3 separate regions of the Homo sapiens genome follow, and all the other regions are linked to region 3. Evidence: promoter capture Hi-C in human tissues and cell types (Jung and others, 2019). All regions are on one chromosome and are shown on one strand. The core of a region is centred on a gene start or on the middle of the fragment in contact, and the rest is flanking DNA. Distances in the headings are between cores, read along the strand shown.

Region 1 (3,339 bases), core at 294-2,793, 490 kb before region 3:
TGGGGTGCTGTCCACAATGGAGTGAGTCCAGGATATCAAAAAAGCAATGATGGATTAGGAAACTATGGCTGAGTATGGTGGCTCATGCCTGTAATCTCAGCACTTTGAGAGGCTGAGGCAGACGGATCCCTTGAGGACAGGAGCTCAAGACCAGCCTAGGCAACATAGTGAGACCCCTTCTCAACAAAAAAAAAATTTTTTAATTAGCCGGGCATGGTGGCGCGTGTCTGTAGTCCCAGCTCCTCAGAAGGCTGAGGCTAGAGGATCGCTTGAGCCTGGAAGGCCGAGGCTGCAATGAGCTGTGATTGTGCCACTGCACTCCAGCCTGGGCAACAGAGTGAGAACCTGTCTCAAAAAATAAAAACACAAAGGAAACTAGGGACTCAAGGAATAAACTCATAATTTGAATGTCTATAGCTTGGTGGCATCAGACAGACGCGGATTCAAATCCCACTTCCACGCGTGGGCTTTACGGCCTTAAAACGAGGATAATGACTATGAGTATCAGAGTTGTGAGAAAGCAAAGAAAACCAAAATAACGATAGTAACGTTAATTGACCACTTGCCCTGTTTCCAAGATTTTACAAACATATCATGTACTGATCATAAAGAACCAAATCGGCAGGGTGCGGTGGCTCACGCCTGTAATGCCAGCACTTTGGGAGGCCGAGGCGGGTCGATCACCTGAGGTCAAGAGTTAGGGACCTGCCTGGCCAACACGGTGAAACCCCGTCTCTACCAAAAAATACAAAAATTAGCCGGGCGTGGTGGCGGGCGCCTGTAATCCCAGCTACTCGAGACGCTGAGGCAGGAGAATCGCTTGAACCCGGGAGGCGGAGGTTGCAGTGAGCAGAGATCGCGCCGCGGCCCTCAGGACTGGGCGACAGAGTCTCCGCCCCCCAACCCCCTTCCTCAAAAAAAAAGAACCGAATCGTTTTTAGCGCAAGTTAACAGATACAAAAGGCAGTGTAAAAGGGCCCGAAGTCCGAGCTGTAATTCGTATGAACAGGATGGGACTTGTCCTATCCTCCCGAAGGCACTTTACCCCTATGAGAAAATCAGGAATAAATACAAAAGGCCTCAACTGGCCAAGCGCGGAGTAAACAGCAAAGCCAGACGGTACACGGGGCATCGCTAGATAATCCGGGACTAATGGCCAAAGGGACAGGGGTTGGTGGGGTAGGGGCAGGTTGGGAACGCCGACCAGGCCTCAAAGGGACGCAGGGTTGGAAAGAGGAGGATACATATCTGGACCCGCGCACCGTCTCGATGTACTCAGACTTGTTGTAGAGCAGCTCGCCCAACTCCATGGCCGCCGCCTCCTTCCCTCAGCCCCGGATCCTGTCAGAGTCAGTCGGTCAGTCTTTCAGAGATTCCGGCTACTTCCGGCCGCTCCTCCACTTCCGCTCCAGGTGGCCCACTGGGACTCATCGACAGCGCGGCTCTCCTTTAGGCGGCCTCGCTCCACTGCTCGGCCGTCTACGGCTGCGCGTGCGCAGGCCGAATGGTGGATTTAATTGGCCGGAGTTTAGGGCGCGCTTGGCCCGCGTGGGTCAGCTGATCGCGCACTGAGGGTGCGATCCCGGGCTCCCCATTCCTTCCTGGGGCGCCTCCCCGGCCCAGGGCCAACTGGGTCCCGGTGTCGGCAGGCCTGGGGTCGGCGACGGCTGCTCTTTTCGTTCTGTCGCCTGCCCGATGGACGAGCCTCCCGGGAAGCCCCTCAGCTGTGAGGAGAAGGAAAAGGTGCCGGGGGTGCGGGAAGGGCGGACGCAGGACTCTGACCCCGCTTTCCCAGGGTTTTAGGCCTGGCTTTGTGTCCTCGGCAGTCCGAGGGCAGCAGTATCATCTGACCACCCCCTCCTCTTAGGGCTGAGGGGGCACAGAAAATGAAAATGTGGAAATAGCGTGGTGCTCACGTGGTGGCGTTTAAAGAACAAATTTCATTACAGTAGCAGCGCATTAATACAATGTGTAACAGTTTGTAGATAAAGCTGTATCGACACCCTTGCTCCTCCCCCCTCCCACACCCTCAATCTTTACTTCTCCCCCCGGACGGCCTCAAGTAAATCTTTTAAGTCTGGTACTTCCAGGTCCTTTCGTGTGTTAATGTGGGTGGTGGAGGAGGGGCGTATCCCTAACCACCAAAAAGGAATCCTATGTATATTTTTTGGAGAAGGGAATGTTCATAAATGGTATGATCTGAATGGTTCTGCAGGTTCCGTTTAGCTTTCCTGTCAGGACATGTTTATCTACCTTGCTTTCTTTTTTAAGTTCTAGACAGTATGTTGTAGTTTGGAAGTGCCCTCGTTTTGTTTCTTTTTTCTTCCTTTTCTGTTTTTCTTCTTTTTTGAGACAGAGTCTCACTCTGCCACCCATGCTGGGGTGCAGTGGCGCGATCTCGGCTCACTGCAACCTCCGCTTCCTGGGATCAAGCGACTCTCCTGCCTCAGCCTCCCGAGTAGCTGGGATTACACGAACCCGCCACTGCACCTGGCCTTGGAAGTGCCCTTGCTTCTTTAGACTGTACTTTACTGATAGACTTTTAGGATGTTTCCAGCTTGTGCTGATGTTATTCTTATCCTGGCTTACCTTCTGGTGGAGGTGAGAAAGATCATTTATAAGTAAACAAGATAATCCCCAGACATTGATAAGATTGGTGGGAGGCCAGTCTCCCTGGCTCACGCCTGTAATCCCCGCACTTTGGGAGGCCGAGATGGGCAGATCGCTTGAGCTCAGAGTTTGAGACCAGCCTAGGCAACGTAGTGAAACCCCGTCTCTACTAAAAATACAAAAATTAGCCGGGTGTGGTGACGCCAGCCTGTAGTCCCAGAGGCTCAGGCCTCAGAGGCTGATGCACGAGAATCGCTTGAACCAGGGGACGCTGAGGTTGCAGGGAGCTGCCGAGATCGCGCCACTGCACGCCAGGCTGGACGACAGAGTGAGACTGTCTCTCAAAAAAAAAGAAAATTCCTTACGGTTGGCAACTTGTCTAGTAGCATGTTTTGCACATAGGTTTTGTTTTGTTTGTTTTTGAGACAGACTCTCCGCTCTATCTCCCAGGCTGGAGTGCAGTGGCTCGATCTTGGCTCACTGCAACCTCCGCCTCTCAGGTTCAAGCGATTCTCCTGCCTCAGCCTCCCGAGTAGTTGGGATTACAGACGCCCAACACCACGCCGGGCTAATTTTTGTATTTTTAGTAGAGACAGGGTTTCTCCATGTTGGCCAGGCTGGTTTTGAACTCCTGACCTCAGGTAATCTGCCCGCCTTGGCCTTCCAAAGTGCTGGGATTACAGGTGTGAGCCACTGCACCCGGCCTTTTTTTTTTTTTTTTTTTTCAAG
Region 2 (3,393 bases), core at 851-3,350, 320 kb before region 3:
TGGGCGGATCACCTGAGGTCGGGAGTTTGAGGCCTGACCTCCCCCAGCCTGACCAACATGGAGAAATCCCATCTCTACTAAAAACACAAAAATTAGCCAGGCGTGGTGGTGCATGCCTGTAATCCCAGCTACTAGGGAGGCTGAGGTGGGAGAATCGTTTGAATCCGGGAGGCAGAGGTTGCGGTGAGCCAAGATCATGCCATTGCATTCCAGCCTGGGCAACAAAAGCGAAAGTCTGTCCAAAAAAAAAAAAAAAAAAAAAAGCATTTATTTCATTTTTTAATGATAATCCTGTTTTTGTGTGTGTGTGGCTTTTTGTTTTTTGTTTGTTTGTTTGTTTGAGACAGAGTCTCGCTCTGTCACTTAGGCTGGAGTGCAGTTCATTGCAACCTCCGCCTCCCGAGTTCAAGTGATTTTCGTGCCTCAGCCTCTCAAATGGCTGGGATTACAGGTGTGTACCACCATGCCCAGCTAATTTTTGTATTTTTAGTAGAGATGGGGTTTTGCCATGTTGTCCAGGCTGGTCTTGAACTCTTAACCTCAAGTGATCCACCCGCCTTGGCCTCCTAAAGTGCTGGGATTACAGGCGTGAGCCCCCACGCCTGGCTGATAATTCTCTATTTTCTATAGTGTTCATGCATTATTTTAATAATGATCGTATCTTCCTCAAAAATGTGATTTTTAATAACTGGTGGTGTGTGTATGATGGTTGGATGGTGGGGAAAGGTCAGTTTGGAGGGTCATAGGAGTCCAGCTAGAGTCATGAGGACTTGGATTATGGTAGTGCAGAGGAATTCAGTCCTGGACATGTTCTGCATGGAGAAGCAACAGCATCTGGGGATAACATGTACATCTCTTTCCAGCCTGGCTGTCCGGGGGGTTTGTAGTGGTGTTAAACCTTCTGCTTGTGCCCTTTATACCAGGCAGCCTGCCGCCTCTCATTGTGTATGACCGGAATGGATTCAGAATTCTGCTCCACTTCTCCCAGACGGGAGCCCCTGGGCACCCAGAGGTACAGGTGCTGCTCTTGACCATGATGAGCACGGCTCCCCAGCCTGTCTGGGATATCATGTTTCAAGTGGCTGTGCCAAAGGTGAGTCATCTGTTGGGGATTTCTCAGTAATGGCTGTCGTTTTTGAGTGCCAGGTTCTTTTCTGGGACTTACCTGTCGAGTGTCAAGGAAAGAATCTTCACTCAAACTAACTGAAGATAAAGTGGGAATGTAATGGCTTACCTGACTGGGGATTCCTGAATATCTGACTTCAGATATGAGTGAATCCAAATAGGTTCTTAAACAATGCCTTAAGAATCTGTATCTCTTGACTCTGCTTTTCTTTGGCACCATTCTGACAGTTTCTCCACAAACAGGAAAGTGGCTACCCACAGCTCCAGGGTTGCATGGTCCTTAACCCTCTTTATCTCAGAAACTCTCACCGGGCATGAAGCACATATATTGATTACCCAGGAAAGGGCTCTGATTGGGCTTGTTGGTGTTACTTCCATACCTTGGACCAGGAACTTGTATCCTGGGATATGAGACACTTGGCCAATGTGAGATAACATCCATCCCTTTTCAAGGGAAGTGGGGCCCTACTGATTAACAGGCACCCCACAGTCACAGGGGAAGGGGCCTGTCCTGAAAGGAAAAGATTCGAGACAGACAAAAATATGACCTGCAGTCTCTACTTCTTACGGTAGTCCTATGGGCAATGTTCTGCTACTACCTCTGTTTTATAAGTTAACCCAAGGCTCAGAAATTAAATATTTTACTCAAGGTCACAGAGCTAGTGAGAAGCAGTTAGAATTCAACCCAAGATGTGCCCTGGCTGTTGATGCTGCGTCTCAGATGCCGGTTATTGACCACACAACTCCCGATCCATTCTGTGTGTGGAAGGAAAGGCCTCTTAGATCCTTTTATCAATTAGTGGGAGTCTGTCTGCTTGGGCTCCCATAGGTGCCTCGGGGTACCACGTTTAAGAGGGCCATTTCCTCTTGGAGGGGTGTTGGGGAGGTCCAGCTCCCCCTCACCTGATCTCCATCCTAGAAGCTGTGGTTAGGAATGAGTTACATGTTGGTTTTCTTCCCCTGATAGTCAATGAGAGTGAAGCTGCAGCCGGCATCCAGCTCCAAGCTTCCTGCATTCAGTCCTTTGATGCCTCCAGCTGTGATATCTCAGATGCTGCTGCTTGACAATCCACACAAAGTATGTTCCAGTGTCTGTGGTAGCAGGGAGATGGGGGCCCCTGAACTGTAAGGGGAGGTAACTTTGTGGGTAGAGAGAGGCACATTGAGGCCTTGCTCTAAAGTCTCTGGTTTGCTGGGCACAGTGGTTCACCCCTGTAATCCCAGCACTTTGGGAGGCTGAGGCAGGTGGACCACCTGAGGTCAGGAGTTTGAGACCAGCCTGGCCAACATGGTGAAACCCCATCTCTACTAAAAATACAAAAATTAGCTGGTTGTGGGGGCACGCACCTTTAGTCCTAGCTGCTCAGGAGGCTGAGGCAGGAGAATTGCTTGAACCCAGGAGGTGGAGGTTGCAGTGAGCCGAGATCGCACTACTGCACTCCAGCCTGGGCAACAGAGCAAGACTCCATCTCAAAAAAAAATAAAGTCGGCCAGGTGCAGTGGCTCACGCCTGTAATCCCAGCACTTTGGGAGGCTGAGGCAGATGGATCACGAGATCAAGCGATCGAGACCATCCTGGCCAACATGGTGAAACCCCATCTCTACTAAAAATACAAAAATTAGCTGGGCATGGTGGCGTGCGCCTGTAGTCTCAGCTACTCGGGAGAGTGAGGCAGGAGAATTGCTTGAACCCAAGAGGCGGAGGTTGCAGTGAGCCAAGATCGCACCACTGCACTCCAGCCTGGTGACAGAGCGAGACTCTATCAAATAGATAGATAGATAGACAGACAGACAGATAGATGAAAGAGAGAGAGAGGGAGGGAAGGAGGAAAGGAAGGAAGGAGAAGAGAAAAAGAAAAGAAAGTCAGTCTCTGGTTTGGTTGGGTGTTAGGGGTATATGTGGAATATCCCTCGCTGGAGTCTGTCTTTGGGGCTCACTGAAGGAAGATCAGATGGATTGTCATAGCTGGGGACCAAGGGAGGGACACATGAACTCTCCCTAATCCTCTGGAGTCCTCTGAAAGGACAAGGTCTGTCTTCCTTAGCTGGTCTCTGAATTGCAGCCCATCTCAGGATTTCAGGACTGCAGAATTATCGAAGGGTTCCCAGGATATGTGCCTGTTTCCCCTTGTTTGTAGTCCCAAAGAGAGTATCCCAGGTATTTTGTGTCAGAATTGTTTGAAACACTCACTTGACTTAACATTGACCCCTGTTCCTGGGTTGCTCTCCACTGATTTGACATCTTCTGTCTCTTCTGTCCCAGGAACC
Region 3 (3,721 bases), core at 186-2,685:
ACAGTGCAGAGCACCCTGGAGATGTCATCATAGAGCCCTACTTACATTGGGGAGGGAGGTCAAAGGTAAAAACCATTTACTTTGAAACGTGGTGTAAGGTGGCCTTCATGTTTTAAAAAGGAGGAAGGGCTCTCCCTTCTCTGATTTCTCTCTTCTGCCTCAGGACTCAGACTAGCCCTTTTAGCAGAGGGGAGCCTATAGAGAGGAGGTCATATACTAGTTGATTTTGGACTAAAGGCATCCCAAAGATGTACTATTTTTTGCTCCCTGCACTATTTTTTTTTTAATGGAACCAACGTTTAAAAATAGGATTTCTGCCTTCTCTTAAAACATCAGATGATCTGGTAACGCTGAGCTCCTGTTCTCACATGGGAACAACTGGCTGGAGCTGAGTGGCAGCCACCTCTTTAGAAAGATGTTAATTTGAAGTCTGCTATAGTCCCCATCATTCCTTATATTTCCCCCAACACTGAGACCCAAGTCACTTGAAAGTCAATATGATGATTCAAACACCAGGATTCTTCACTCATTTGTGGGTTTGTGACCTGTGATATTTGTGGATTCGTGACCTTTGGTTTAGAGGTCAAGTATAGGGGTTGTAAATAAAACTTGGGTTTGAATCAGATAAGAACTGTACCAATCTCAAAGACGGTGAATTAAAGATTAAAGAAAATATTGCATGCTTGGCATAATGTGTGGAACACAACAGCTATTGTAAACACCCAGTAGGAATGTAAGCTGCAAGAGGGCAGGTAGAAACCGTGCTAATTTAATCCGCTGGGGATATGACATTTGATTCTAATTTAATAGGTTTAATTCTTTGCAATATCCCCAGTAACTGCTGAATGAATGAGTGAGTGAATGAATGAATGGAATGATGAATGATGGGAGAGCCCGGAGGAGTTTTAAAGGCTGGAATGAAAAGGAAAGTAGTTATGATAACAGCGTTTCGCTGGGACTCCAAGGTGCAGCCAGGAAGAAAAGCCCGCTGGGACGTGCCAGGGTCTGTGACTGCGCTCCGCTGGCACCCAGAGGGTAGGTATCTGCAACGTCCCTTGGGAGCCAGACAGGGCTGACTTGCCCAGGACCTGTCAGGGCCATGTCCACCAGCTCTTGCACGGTCTGGTAACTGACAGCATCCTGATTCCTGCACGTTCCCGCCTCTGCCATCTGACCAGCAAAGACAGAGACCCACCCCGGGGATCCACCATCCAACGGGAGCCCAGCCTTTTCCTCCAAGCCGGGACGGCGCCCACACTAGACATGGCCTCCCTCGGGCTTCACGCAGCAGGACCGCGCCCGCAGCCTCCAGGCATCGCGTCCGGCTGGAGAGGCAGCTACCGTCCCACAGTGAACATGGCGGCCGAGGCGGCTTCAGCGCCGGGCGGGCGGCGCCGGGAGGCACGTCACGTGAGCGGCTCAGCTGGGCGGACCGCGCGCGCGCCCGCTGGCCCCGCCGGCCGCCGCTCGCTCGCTGGCTCGGCTGCGCTTTGAGGTGTGTGGGGCGTCGAGCCCCCGGGCCCGGTGAGGCGCGGCGCTGCGGGATGCGGCGGCGGCCGTGGCGGGGCCGCGGGCCGGGCGGGCGGGCGCGGTGATGAGTGTCTGCGGCCGCCGCCATGTCCAAGGTAACGGCGCCTGGGTCCGGGCCGCCGGCGGCGGCGAGCGGGAAGGAGAAGCGCTCCTTCAGCAAGCGGCTGTTTCGGAGCGGCCGCGCTGGCGGCGGCGGCGCGGGGGGCCCCGGGGCGTCCGGGCCGGCCGCGCCTTCCTCGCCCTCCTCGCCCTCCTCTGCACGCTCGGTGGGCAGCTTCATGAGCCGCGTTCTCAAGACGCTGTCCACGCTCTCGCACCTTAGCTCTGAGGGCGCCGCCCCAGACCGCGGCGGCCTCCGCAGCTGCTTCCCGCCCGGGCCGGCCGCCGCGCCCACGCCGCCGCCGTGCCCGCCGCCGCCCGCCTCTCCCGCGCCGCCCGCTTGCGCCGCCGAGCCGGTGCCCGGCGTGGCGGGGCTCCGCAACCACGGCAACACGTGCTTCATGAACGCCACGCTGCAGTGCCTCAGCAACACCGAGCTCTTCGCCGAGTACCTGGCGCTGGGCCAGTACCGGGCGGGGCGGCCCGAGCCCTCGCCTGACCCGGAGCAGCCTGCGGGCCGCGGCGCGCAGGGCCAGGGCGAGGTCACTGAGCAGCTGGCGCACCTGGTGCGGGCCCTCTGGACCCTGGAGTACACCCCGCAGCACAGCCGCGACTTCAAGGTGAGCCCGCGCGCCGCCGCGCCCCCACTGCACCCCGAGCCCCTGGGGCACCTGCCCGCCCAGGTCTTCCTTCCCTCGGTTCCTCTTGGCCCGGCAGGCTTCTGCATTGGTTGCTCCGAGTGGTCTGGGCAGTCGACCAGTGATTTTAAGGAGATTCATTCATTCATTCATTTATTCACTCACTCACTCACTCAAACATGTATTTATTGAGAACTTACTACATACGTGCCCATACTCTGTGATAATAGGCAATGGGAGTGACGTTGCAATGAACAAGACTATCCGCCTTCATGGAACTTGCATTTTTGTGGGGTGGGAGTGTTGAGCATGGGTTCAAATCCTGGTTCTGCCACTTACTAGCAATGTGACGTCGGGTAAGTTAAGCAGCCTCTCTGTTCTTACAGTTTCTTCATCTGGGGGACCTACTTTGTAAGGTGGTTGTGAGCTGCAAACAAGTTAATATATTAAATCGAACACTGTGGAATTACCCATATTTAACCGTTTTTTATTTACAGATTGGCACTTTTATAGGGTTCAACCTGATAAGTAAAATACTTCCATATCATGTGTATTTGCTGCTATTATTTTTGTTATTAAAGACTTGAAGAAGTTAACGAGATAATATCAGATAGTGGTTTGAAGAAAGAAAAACCTGCTGCTGTGATTGATGTGCTGACAGGCTACTTTTTATTTTTATTTTATTTTTAGAGACAGGGTCTTGCTCTGTTGCCCAGGCTGGAGTGCAGTGCTCACATAGCCTCAAACTCCTGGGCTCAAGCAATCCTCCCGCCTCACCTTCCAGAGTATTTAATAGCTGGGACTACAGACACACACCACCATACCTACCTATTTTTTATTTTTAAAACACTTTTGTAGAGACGGGGGTTTTGCTGTGTTGCCCAGACTGGTCTTGAACTCTTGTCCTCAAGCCACTCTCCCCGCTTTGGCCTCCCAAAGTGCTGGGATTACAGGGGTGAGCTATACATCCCTGGGGGTATGTATGGCCCTTGGCCAAGCCCTCCTTTGCTGTTTGCTGGTGGGGCTGCAAGTGTAGTGAGAGGGTGAGATTTGAGAGCCGAGTGGTGGGCTGGGACCGGATGGTATGGGACCATTTAGGATGCACTAAGAAATTGGGCGGTTACTCTAAGCAGAAGGGGAACATGATGTGAGATTGTGTAAGGGATACTTTCAGGTGGGACATGAATATGGTATTAAACAGCATGGAATCGGGCGGGGCGCAGTGGCTCATGCCTGTAATCCTAGCACTTTGGGAGGCCAAGGCGGGTGGATCACCTGAGGTCCGGGGGTTCGAGACCAGCCTGACCAACATGGAGAAACCCCATCTCTACTAAAAATACAAAATTAGACGGGCGTGGTGGTTCATGCCTGTTATCCTGGCTACTCAGGAGGCTGAGGCAGGAGAATTGCTTGAACCTGGGAGGCGGACGTTGCAGTGAGCCGAGATCGTGCCA

The links. Contacts are between HindIII fragments. The study calls those that stand out against the background at their distance.
Region 1: the fragment with the promoter of PALB2 here is called in contact with the fragment with the promoter of USP31 in region 3 in 1 of the 25 tissues and cell types used here (H1 embryonic stem cells).
Region 2: a contact is called between a fragment that was not itself captured here and the fragment with the promoter of USP31 in region 3, in 1 of the 25 tissues and cell types used here (pancreas).

Annotation. Positions count from the first base shown.
Region 1 is chr16:23,639,514-23,642,852 of GRCh38, reverse strand. It overlaps PALB2 (partner and localizer of BRCA2), which reads left to right and starts at 1,543. Exons shown (of 13, transcript NM_024675.4): 1 at 1,543-1,743. The coding sequence starts at 1,696. DCTN5 (dynactin subunit 5) reads right to left here and starts at 1,387. Exons shown (of 6, transcript NM_032486.4): 1 at 1,263-1,387. The coding sequence starts at 1,310. RefSeq lists an enhancer at 325-1,114 and a silencer at 2,242-2,476. The HindIII fragment of the contact is 21,224 bases long and covers 1-3,339 here.
Region 2 is chr16:23,467,696-23,471,088 of GRCh38, reverse strand. GGA2 (golgi associated, gamma adaptin ear containing, ARF binding protein 2) reads left to right here. Exons shown (of 17, transcript NM_015044.4): 15 at 924-1,093; 16 at 2,093-2,203; 17 at 3,389-3,393. Among named protein-coding and RNA genes, the nearest start is that of COG7, 16 kb to the right of the region's middle. The HindIII fragment of the contact is 3,947 bases long and covers 127-3,393 here.
Region 3 is chr16:23,147,166-23,150,886 of GRCh38, reverse strand. USP31 (ubiquitin specific peptidase 31) reads left to right here and starts at 1,435. Exons shown (of 16, transcript NM_020718.4): 1 at 1,435-2,249. The coding sequence starts at 1,617. RefSeq lists an enhancer at 1,035-1,254 and silencers at 1,435-1,534, 1,685-1,734, 1,835-1,934, 2,065-2,294. The HindIII fragment of the contact is 9,135 bases long and covers 1-3,721 here.